Regions from separate parts of the Homo sapiens genome. Here regions 1 and 2 are each linked to region 3. Evidence: promoter capture Hi-C in human tissues and cell types (Jung and others, 2019). All regions are on one chromosome and are shown on one strand. Each heading gives the region's core, a stretch centred on a gene start or on the middle of the fragment in contact. The rest is flanking DNA. Distances are from core to core; before and after follow the strand shown. Region 1 holds the start of MRPL23 (mitochondrial ribosomal protein L23). Region 2 holds the start of TNNT3 (troponin T3, fast skeletal type). Region 3 overlaps IFITM10 (interferon induced transmembrane protein 10).

Region 1 (2,700 bases), core at 76-2,575, 200 kb before region 3:
GGCTCACTGCCACCAGCCTGCCTCCCCACGGCCCCACGAGTGACTCACCCAGGATCCCACCCTCTCGGCACCCCCACCCCAGCTGCATCCAGTCCACAGCAAGTCCAGTCAGCGCTCCCTGCAAAGGCTCCCTGGCAACAGGAGTGTGTGCACTGCTGGGCGAGCGGGCCCCGCTGCCTCCAAGGCAACCACACCTGATCCGTTTCCAGGGGCCCACCACCCTTGGCCCTTCAGGAACACCCCACCCGGGTCCTCTGACCCTCACTTCCTCCTCATTCTCCAGGGACAGGCGAAGGGCCAGCGTGGAATTCACGTGAGGCTCAGGGCAGTGTTGGCCTCACTCAGACCTTTTCTTCCTTGGTGCTGGGTGTTCCCCAAGGTCAGGGCCACGCGCAGCACCGGTCCCAGGTGTCTGCTGAAGGAAGCCTCCTCCACTGGGGGTCCCACCTGCCACCCTCCCCTCTCTCCCCAGCTATGTGCAGGGGCCTCCAAAGCCACACCCTGGCCCCTTGACCGTCCCTCTCCAGAAACACTGATTACTGTTCTCCAAAACCCACCCGGGAGCCCACATCTACTGATTACGCCTGAGTCATTCGTTCACCAAGAAATATGCAGGGCTTCCTGCTTCAATTTGGGGAGGGCGAAGTGGTGCAGGACAGCGCCCCGATGGCCCCCTGGGAATCCAGAGAACATGCAGAGTGGGCGTGGGGGGTCTGGGCTGAGCAGAACCGGGCCTCCCGCCCTGCCTGCCCCAAAGCCCTGAGGGCTGCGGTCAGCTGCCCTTTCCCACTCAAACCCAATCTGGATTCCCAGCTCCTCTGCCTCAGGCCGCGCCCGCGCTGCGGTGGGGGCCGCCCGGGCCTCCCCGCCTGGACCCAACAGCCGACGTGGCCCCCGCCCCGTGACGATCAGAAACGTCTCCAAACAGCTCCCTCGGCCCTGGCTGCGGGACCAGCCCCGGGCCTGACCCCGGGCCACCCTCCCACTCCCCACGCGGGGGCACCGTGGCCTCCATGGGTTTGGCTCGGACCCTCTGTCCCCAGCCCGGCCACGCCCGCCCCCTGGGGTTGCCCTAAACCTGGCGGGGGGCTCCTCCGCCACCCGCCTCGCGTGTCTCAAGGCATGACAGGGGGTCCCGGAGAACCCTGCCTCGCCCGGGCCAGGAGGCGGCCCAGGGACGCCCACCCCGCTCCCCGGAGTCCGCGCGCCCTGTGGGGTCCGTCTGCTTGTGACACTAAGGGGCGCCCCGCGACGGGGGGGTGACGACCCCTACTCACACCACATTCCGCGCCATGGCGGCCACGCGCGCTTCCGGGGTCCGCGAGGCGGAAGGAGCAGCGCGCCCGCCCCGCACGGCCGCCGCCTGGCACAGCGCCCCCTCGCTTCCGGAGGCCGCGCCGCCCCCCCCGCACGCGCCAGCGCCCGTGCCGCGCGCCCGTGCCGTCCCCAGCCCTGCGCCCGCCCCGCCCCGCGCCGCCTTCTTCTCCCTCCCTGCCCCCCTCCTGTCCCGCACCCCACGTTCCTCCCCGCCCCGACCCCCACTCCCCGCGCCGCAGACTCCACAGGACGCGGGGCCGCAGCAGTCCCGCCCCGCACTCCCGGCCCCACAGCCTGAAGCCCGGGCCCGCGCCCCTGCTGCTCGCGCCCCGCCCACGCCCGCACCCCTCCCAGCCCCAGAGACCTCCCGCCGCCGTCGCACTCTTTCGGGCCTGTCTGCCCTGCCTCCCGGGACCCCGGCCTGCACGCCCCCCACACCCGTGCCCCTGCCCTTTGGCAGCTCCAGGCCACAGCCTGGCCCCGCACCGCTGCGCTTGCAGCTGCTGGGAGCTGGAAGTGGAGAACCGGGGCTGTAGTGCTGGGGAGGGCGGGTCCCCGGGCCTGGGGTCTGAAGCCCCTCTCTCCATCTGGCTGTTTTTACCCGGGAGCCCGGAACCCCAGGGCCCCTCACCTCGCCCTTCTGGCCAGCCCGGTTGGCAGCCCCCACGCTGGCCACACCAGCCACGCTGTCCATCCTCGGTGCTCCCACCACGCCTCCTCCAAGAGGGCCACTGGCCTCTTCAGGCCTTGCCGTTTGCTCACCCCCTCTCCACCCTTCTGGCCAGCCCCCTCCAGCCTCTGGCAAGGCCCTCTCTACAGGGACCCCCGTCCAAGGCCCAGTCCTCACTCCTTTCCTTGGGTAGTGCTGGCCAGGAGGGCTGCTGGGACCCTTCGGGAGTAGAGGGCAGCAGCCTCCCTCCCCTGTCCCCAGGCCTCTCCCTCCTCCCCTGGTTTCCTCTGCCTGGTGGCTGGATTCAGGCCACTTCTCCATCTATCTCTTTAACTGCCCGTGCCCCCCACCCCCAAGCCTGGCTTGTTCCCGCACCCAACAGCACCCTAAGTGTTCTTCAGAGCAAGAGGCAGGGGTGTCATGCTTCAGAGCAAGAAGCGGGGCCATGGGTCCTGGTTGTTGCTGGGGGCAGGGGGCCCAGGCCTGCAGGTGGGAACAGGGCTGCGGGAGGGCACTGGGGTTGATGGAAATTCAGGAGGAGGAGAGGGCACTGTGCCCCTCCGAGGGCCTGGGCCGGGTAGGGCTGGAGTTCCTCCTGATGGGTGGGTTTGAGTGGAAATGACTCCAGGGGGTCTATCTAGCATGAAGGCATTGAAGCAGGATGGAGTGAGAAGTGGGCCAGAGTGGGCAGGGAAGGTGGTGGCAGCCGTCCC
Region 2 (2,713 bases), core at 44-2,543, 180 kb before region 3:
CAGGCCCCCCGACGTGCGCTGGAAAGGCCCACTCTCCAAGTGGGGAAACTGAGGCACCTGGTTTTCTGCTGAGCGCCTGGAAGCAACACAAGGCTGTTCTGTTCCCCCCAGTATGGCCTGTGTCATTGCCTCTGTTGCGGGGAGGGGCTGGTGGCAGGGGTGTGCTGGGGGCAGGGGTGTGCTGGGGGCAGGGGATGGCATTTCAACAGCTGAGACGCAAAGCAGGTGTCCAGTTAGTGCCTGCCTTGGAGGGGCTGCGTGAAAATAACCTATGCGGTCAGTTTCTTCGGGCACGTATGCATCACCTTTCCCTCCTTGGGAGGTGACGGGGCCAGGGCAGGGTGGGGAGGCAAAAGCCGCTGCCCCTTGCTTGCTGTGGCCCTGACCATGCCCCCAGACCTGTTCTCCACCCAGCCAACCTTTGCTTTGCCCCATGTCCCTCCGTGGACTTCAGGAGGGGCAGCCAAGGCCTGATCAGACGGCACAAGTCAGGGGGACCGTGTCCAGGGCAGGGAGGGTGGGTGGGGGCTCTTACGAGCGCCAGCTTCTCCAGCCTCCAGCCAGGGGGACGCGATGAAGCCCAGCCCCTCACTCTTGCCCCGTCCTGCCCCAGTCCAGCCCCTGTCCACTTCTGTCCTGCACCTCCAGACGCTGGCCCCCAAGGCTGCGTGGGCTTTAGACGCCCCCACCCCAACACACTCGGGCTGGCCATACAGGAGCCCCTGCCCTCCTGTCCTCGTTTTCATCTCTACAAAATGGCGGTGTTGGAGGCCCAGGTGCGAGAGCTGCATGGCAAGGCCAGGACGGGCCTGGGCAAATGTCTGCATGGCGACCACAAGCTGGCAACCTAAGCCCTGGCAGCACCCCTGCACAGCCTCTTCCCTGCCGCTCACAGCCCGCACCTCTCTGCCTCCTGCCCTCAGGCCACTCCCTAGCACTGAGCTTCCCTGAGCCCCGACTTGCCCCCTCCTGGCCTCCCACACTCTGCCTTCTTCTGCATCCTCCCGGTGCTGAGACCATCACACCACCATGTCCGCATCCCAGACTCTCCGGACGCTGGAGCAGCCACCTGGGGGCTCCGAGCCATGATGCTTCGAGATGCTCGGCACCACACGGACCTGGGACCTCAGCGCCCCAGGACCCCAGAGTGTCCCTGGAACGAGGGGCTGTCCACCCGCACGCAGGAGGCCCCGTCGGCCCCAGTCCTGGGTGGCCGCTCCTGCCTATACCCACCTGCGGGTCGAGTGTGAGAAGGGCTGGAGCTCCCTGTGGACAGCACCGGCTGCAGGCACTGGCGCCCGGCTCACACCCTCGTGTTATAGTGACATTTGATCTTCCTAGGAGCCCATTGGCCAGTGACTGGGTGGCCGGGGTGTGTGCGGAGTCTTGCTGGGGGGGGCTATGCCCGTGCAGGCCCCTTACCAAGTATAGGAATGGCCAGAGGAGGAGGCTGAAGGAGGCCAGGATGCAGAGGACGTGCTTGGAGAAGGAGGCAAGGTCCTCCCTCCGCCTCCAGGAGGTGTCAGCTGCTATTTTTACTCCCAGCAGCGGGTACATTCTGGATGGGCTGAGGAGGGAGGAGGAAGGTGTTGGGTGGCCCCGGGGCACCAAGCCGAGGCTCTCTTTGGGCCAAACTAGTGTGGGGGTCCCCAGAGCCAGGCTGCCGGGTTTCCCACCCCCCCGCCCCTTCTCTCTGAGATGTTCTGTGGGAGTAAACATTTGTCCAGGAAAAGGGTCCGCACAGCCGGGGTCCCCTCCCGCCGCCCGGCCCAATGCCCCAGGCCCTTCGCTGTCTCCCCCGGGGAGGAAGCAGCCTGAGGCCTCGGAGACCCCCCATGGAACTGAGGCCAGGCCCCCACCCTATCTGAGACCCTCTTAGAGGCCAGCTCTGCTTTCCTGGCTAGACACCGTTGGGGCCTACACAATAAGCGGGCGAGGGACATGGCCAGGCTGGCTGCAGTCCGAGTCTGCCATACCTCCCCCCGGGGCTGCTGCCATTGCAGGGGGCTACACATGGAGTTTGCTGGGTAAGGGTCTGGGTCCTCCCTCTAGGCCCTTTCTAACCCTGGGGCCCCACCCTGGGCACTCGCAGTGGCCGTTACCATCTGTGCCAGCATCTCCCACAGGCTCATTGTGGCGTGTGGAGACTGGTTTTCTTTCCTCAGGACTCCAGGTGGCACCGTCCGACTAGCAGACATCCTTCCTGGCCTCTGATGGCCTGTATGCTGGCCAGTGAGGCCACCAGATTGGATAACCCTGCCTCTTGGATCAGGGAAACTGAGGCACCAGGTGGGGGAGAGCAGTCTGGCACCCTGACCCACCCCCTCACTCCCCTCAGACCCCACAGGCTGAGCGTGGGCGGTGGTGTCTGCGGAACTCTTCGGTTCAGGCACAGATTGGTTCCTTCTTGGCCAGCGCCCAGGACAGGGGTGAGTCCCGAGAGGCACAGATGAGGTCCCTGTCCTCCCCAGGCTTAGAGTCAGGGACAACAGGATAACCCGGCAGGGGCTCACAGTGCCCTGGGGCCGGGTCGGGGGCCTTCCGGAAGGCTGTGGTTGGCACCTCATTCCACCCCTCCATGGAAGAGCGAGGCCGCAGAGCCCAGGGACAGGCAAGGTGTGCCTGGGGTCACACGACAAGGCGGGCTGGCCCCAGGCTGCCATTTCAAAGGACAGGGCCGGTCCCCTGCCTGCCTCCCGCTGAGTGCCCGGCA
Region 3 (2,700 bases), core at 78-2,577:
TGTGTGTGGTGGTGAGTATTCCTGCGTGTGTGTGTGTGTGTAGAAGCAACAAAGGAAAAGGGCCCCTGGAATTGGAGGTCATGCTTCCGACCAGCTCCAGCTGTGGCTCCCCAGACCAATCCTGAGCAGAAAGCTCCAGTGTTGGGGGGCTGAAGCTGCAGCTGGTGGAGCTCTGCCTCCCCTCTCTCTGTGCCCTGCCAACAGCCTGCGGACATGGGTCTGGCTGCCTGGGCTCCCGTCCGGAAGCTGTCCCTCCTCCCGCTTGGCTCAGGCTGTGGCTGGCCGGCTGGCATGGGGCAGGCCCATCTGGCTCGGGTTGTAGGTAGGTCAGGGATTTCTGGATGGTGCCGGGTTTCTGCAGGGGTTGGGGGTGGTGTGAGGTTGACCCTTCTGAGGGTCAGGGACGGCTCATTACACCTCCTCCCAAGCCTGCTCCTCCTGTGTCCTTCCTGCGGTGGGCGGGGGCAGCCAGGGCAGAGAGGCTTTGGGGCATACCTGGGAGTGGGTGCAAGGTGACCTGTCTCCATCCTGGGCAGAAGGGAGGACGGAACTGGCTGGCTGTGGACCCCACGCCTGGGAATGCATCCATCTGGTCACCCAGCTGCAGGTCTCCTGACCTGCACCCTACACCAAGGACGCGGGGTGGCCCTAGGTTCAGAAGGTCTTGGCTAAAATCCGAGCTCTTGGGACAGACAAGCCATCTTGCCTCACTGAGCCCCTGTTCCCTCATCTGTTCACAAAACAAATAGAAACAAAACAACATTCAAGCCAGCACACGTGAGCAGGGCGGAGGCCCGCATGCAGTGGTATGAACTAGACAGTGTGTCCTTGCCTGCCCCCACGTGTCCATCCACCCGTCCAGCCATCCATCCACCCCCCCCACCCACATGGGCCAATTCGGCTCAACGCAGGCTGGATCTGCAGCGCAGAGATTGAAGCCTTATTTTGCACAGCCTGGTGTCCGGGGAAGGCAGAGATACAAAAAGTCAATTCTCCATTCATGCCGCCTCCACACACTGTCTCCTGATGACCACTGGCTCCCGCGGTCAGCTGGATGATGGCCAAACGTCTCATCTCAGCATCCAAGCTGCCTTTTTAACCCTTCTGGCCTCAGCGGTTCCCCGCCCCGGTCACTCGGCAAATGTGATGTGAGCGATGTGCACATCCTCGGCCTGGAGAGCTTTTGTGAGATCTGGGTCTCTCTTCTGCAAAGCCTCCAGAGACAGTCCTGCCCCAGCCACATCTGCTCACCCCAGCCAATCTGTGCCCAAGGCAGAGCTGGCCAACAGATGGGTCAGGACATGTGGGTCTAATGGGTGGGTGGACAGAGGACACATGGTGAGACGGAAGAAGCACCACAGTGTTTCAGAAAAGGAATACTTCATTCCCAGTTTGGGGTGAGGCTGGAAAACTTCTAGAAGGAGGCAGCAATTTCACTGGGCCTTGAAGCTTGGTGAGGGGAAAGGTGTTTCAGGCGGGGAAAATGGCATAAACTAAGACACGTAGGTGGGGCAGTCTAGGGGGTCGGCAAGGCCCCTGTCCTCAATGGGAGATGGAAGACATTCCTGGAAGAGTGCCTGAGGCAGTGCGGTGAACGGGTTTGAAAACCTCGTGAGGGGCTGGGCTCTCATCTGTAGGAGCCATGGAAAGAGAAGGATATGATCAGGGCCATGAAATCTGCAACCAGTGTAGGGGAAGGAGACAAGACAAGCCTCGAGGCAGAAGGTTCAAGTCCCAGTGTGGTGGTCCAGGTGGGAGAGCTTGCGAGCTGGGGATGGGGGTGGGAGAGGAGGAACAGGTGTGGCTAGGACACAGCAGCTGCTAGATGTGAGCCCAGGAGGCTGTGAGACCTTCCAGTGACAGGGCGGTCAGAAAGAACAGGTTAGGTGGGTGGGTTCTGCGTTGGGTTTTGGATGTACACACTCACCCACTCACTCCTTTCTGAATATCAGCATCACACATTTATCTTTCCCATCCTCCATCCATCTATCATTCATCCATCTTCCATCCATCCATTCTCCATCTGTCCATCCATCCATATGCATCCATCCATCCATCCTCCATTCAGCCATCCTCCATCTGTCCTTCATCTATCCATCCACCCTCCATCCATCCGTCTATCCATCTTCCATCCATTCATCCATCCATCCTCCATCTGTCCATCCTCCATCCATCCATCCATCCATCCATCTTCCGTTTGTCCATTCTTCATCTGTCCATCCATCCATCCTCCATCTGTCCATCCATCCATATCCATTCATCTATTCATCCTCCATCCATCCATCTTCCATTTGTCCATTCTTCATCTGTCCATCCATCCATCTTCCATTTGTCCATTCTTCATCTGTCCATCCATCCATCCTCCATCTGTCCATCCATCCATATCCATCCATCTATTCATCCTCCATCCATCTATCCATCCATCCTCCATCCATCCTCCATCCATCCATCCATCCGCCCTCCATCCATCCTTCATCCATCCATCCATCCACCCTCAATCCATCCATCCATTTATCTTTCATCCATCCATATGTCCATCCATCCATCCATCCTCCATCTGTCCATCCTCCATCCATCTATCCATCCATCCTCCATCCATCTATCCATCCTCCATCTGTCCATCCATCCATCCATCATCTGTTCATCCTCCCTCCGTCCATCCACCCAAACTTATATTCAATCCATCCTCCCACATTTCCT

The links. The method cuts DNA at HindIII sites, captures the fragments that hold promoters and counts their contacts. A contact is called where the count stands out against the background at its distance.
Region 1: a contact is called between the fragment with the promoter of MRPL23 here and a fragment that was not itself captured in region 3, in 2 of the 25 tissues and cell types used here (lymphoblastoid cells and spleen).
Region 2: a contact is called between the fragment with the promoter of TNNT3 here and a fragment that was not itself captured in region 3, in 4 of the 25 tissues and cell types used here (IMR-90 fibroblasts, dorsolateral prefrontal cortex, lymphoblastoid cells and 1 more).

Annotation. Positions count from the first base shown.
Region 1 is chr11:1,945,957-1,948,656 of GRCh38, reverse strand. MRPL23 (mitochondrial ribosomal protein L23) reads right to left here and starts at 1,325. Exons shown (of 5, transcript NM_021134.4): 1 at 1,278-1,325. The coding sequence starts at 1,294. The HindIII fragment of the contact is 45,453 bases long and covers 1-2,700 here.
Region 2 is chr11:1,918,283-1,920,995 of GRCh38, reverse strand. It overlaps TNNT3 (troponin T3, fast skeletal type), which reads right to left and starts at 1,293. Exons shown (of 16, transcript NM_006757.4): 1 at 1,234-1,293. The HindIII fragment of the contact is 33,765 bases long and covers 1-2,713 here.
Region 3 is chr11:1,742,821-1,745,520 of GRCh38, reverse strand. The region is part of intron 2 of IFITM10 (interferon induced transmembrane protein 10); the gene reads left to right. Among named protein-coding and RNA genes, the nearest start is that of IFITM10, 6.4 kb to the left of the region's middle. RefSeq lists an enhancer at 1,562-1,920. The HindIII fragment of the contact is 8,903 bases long and covers 1-2,700 here.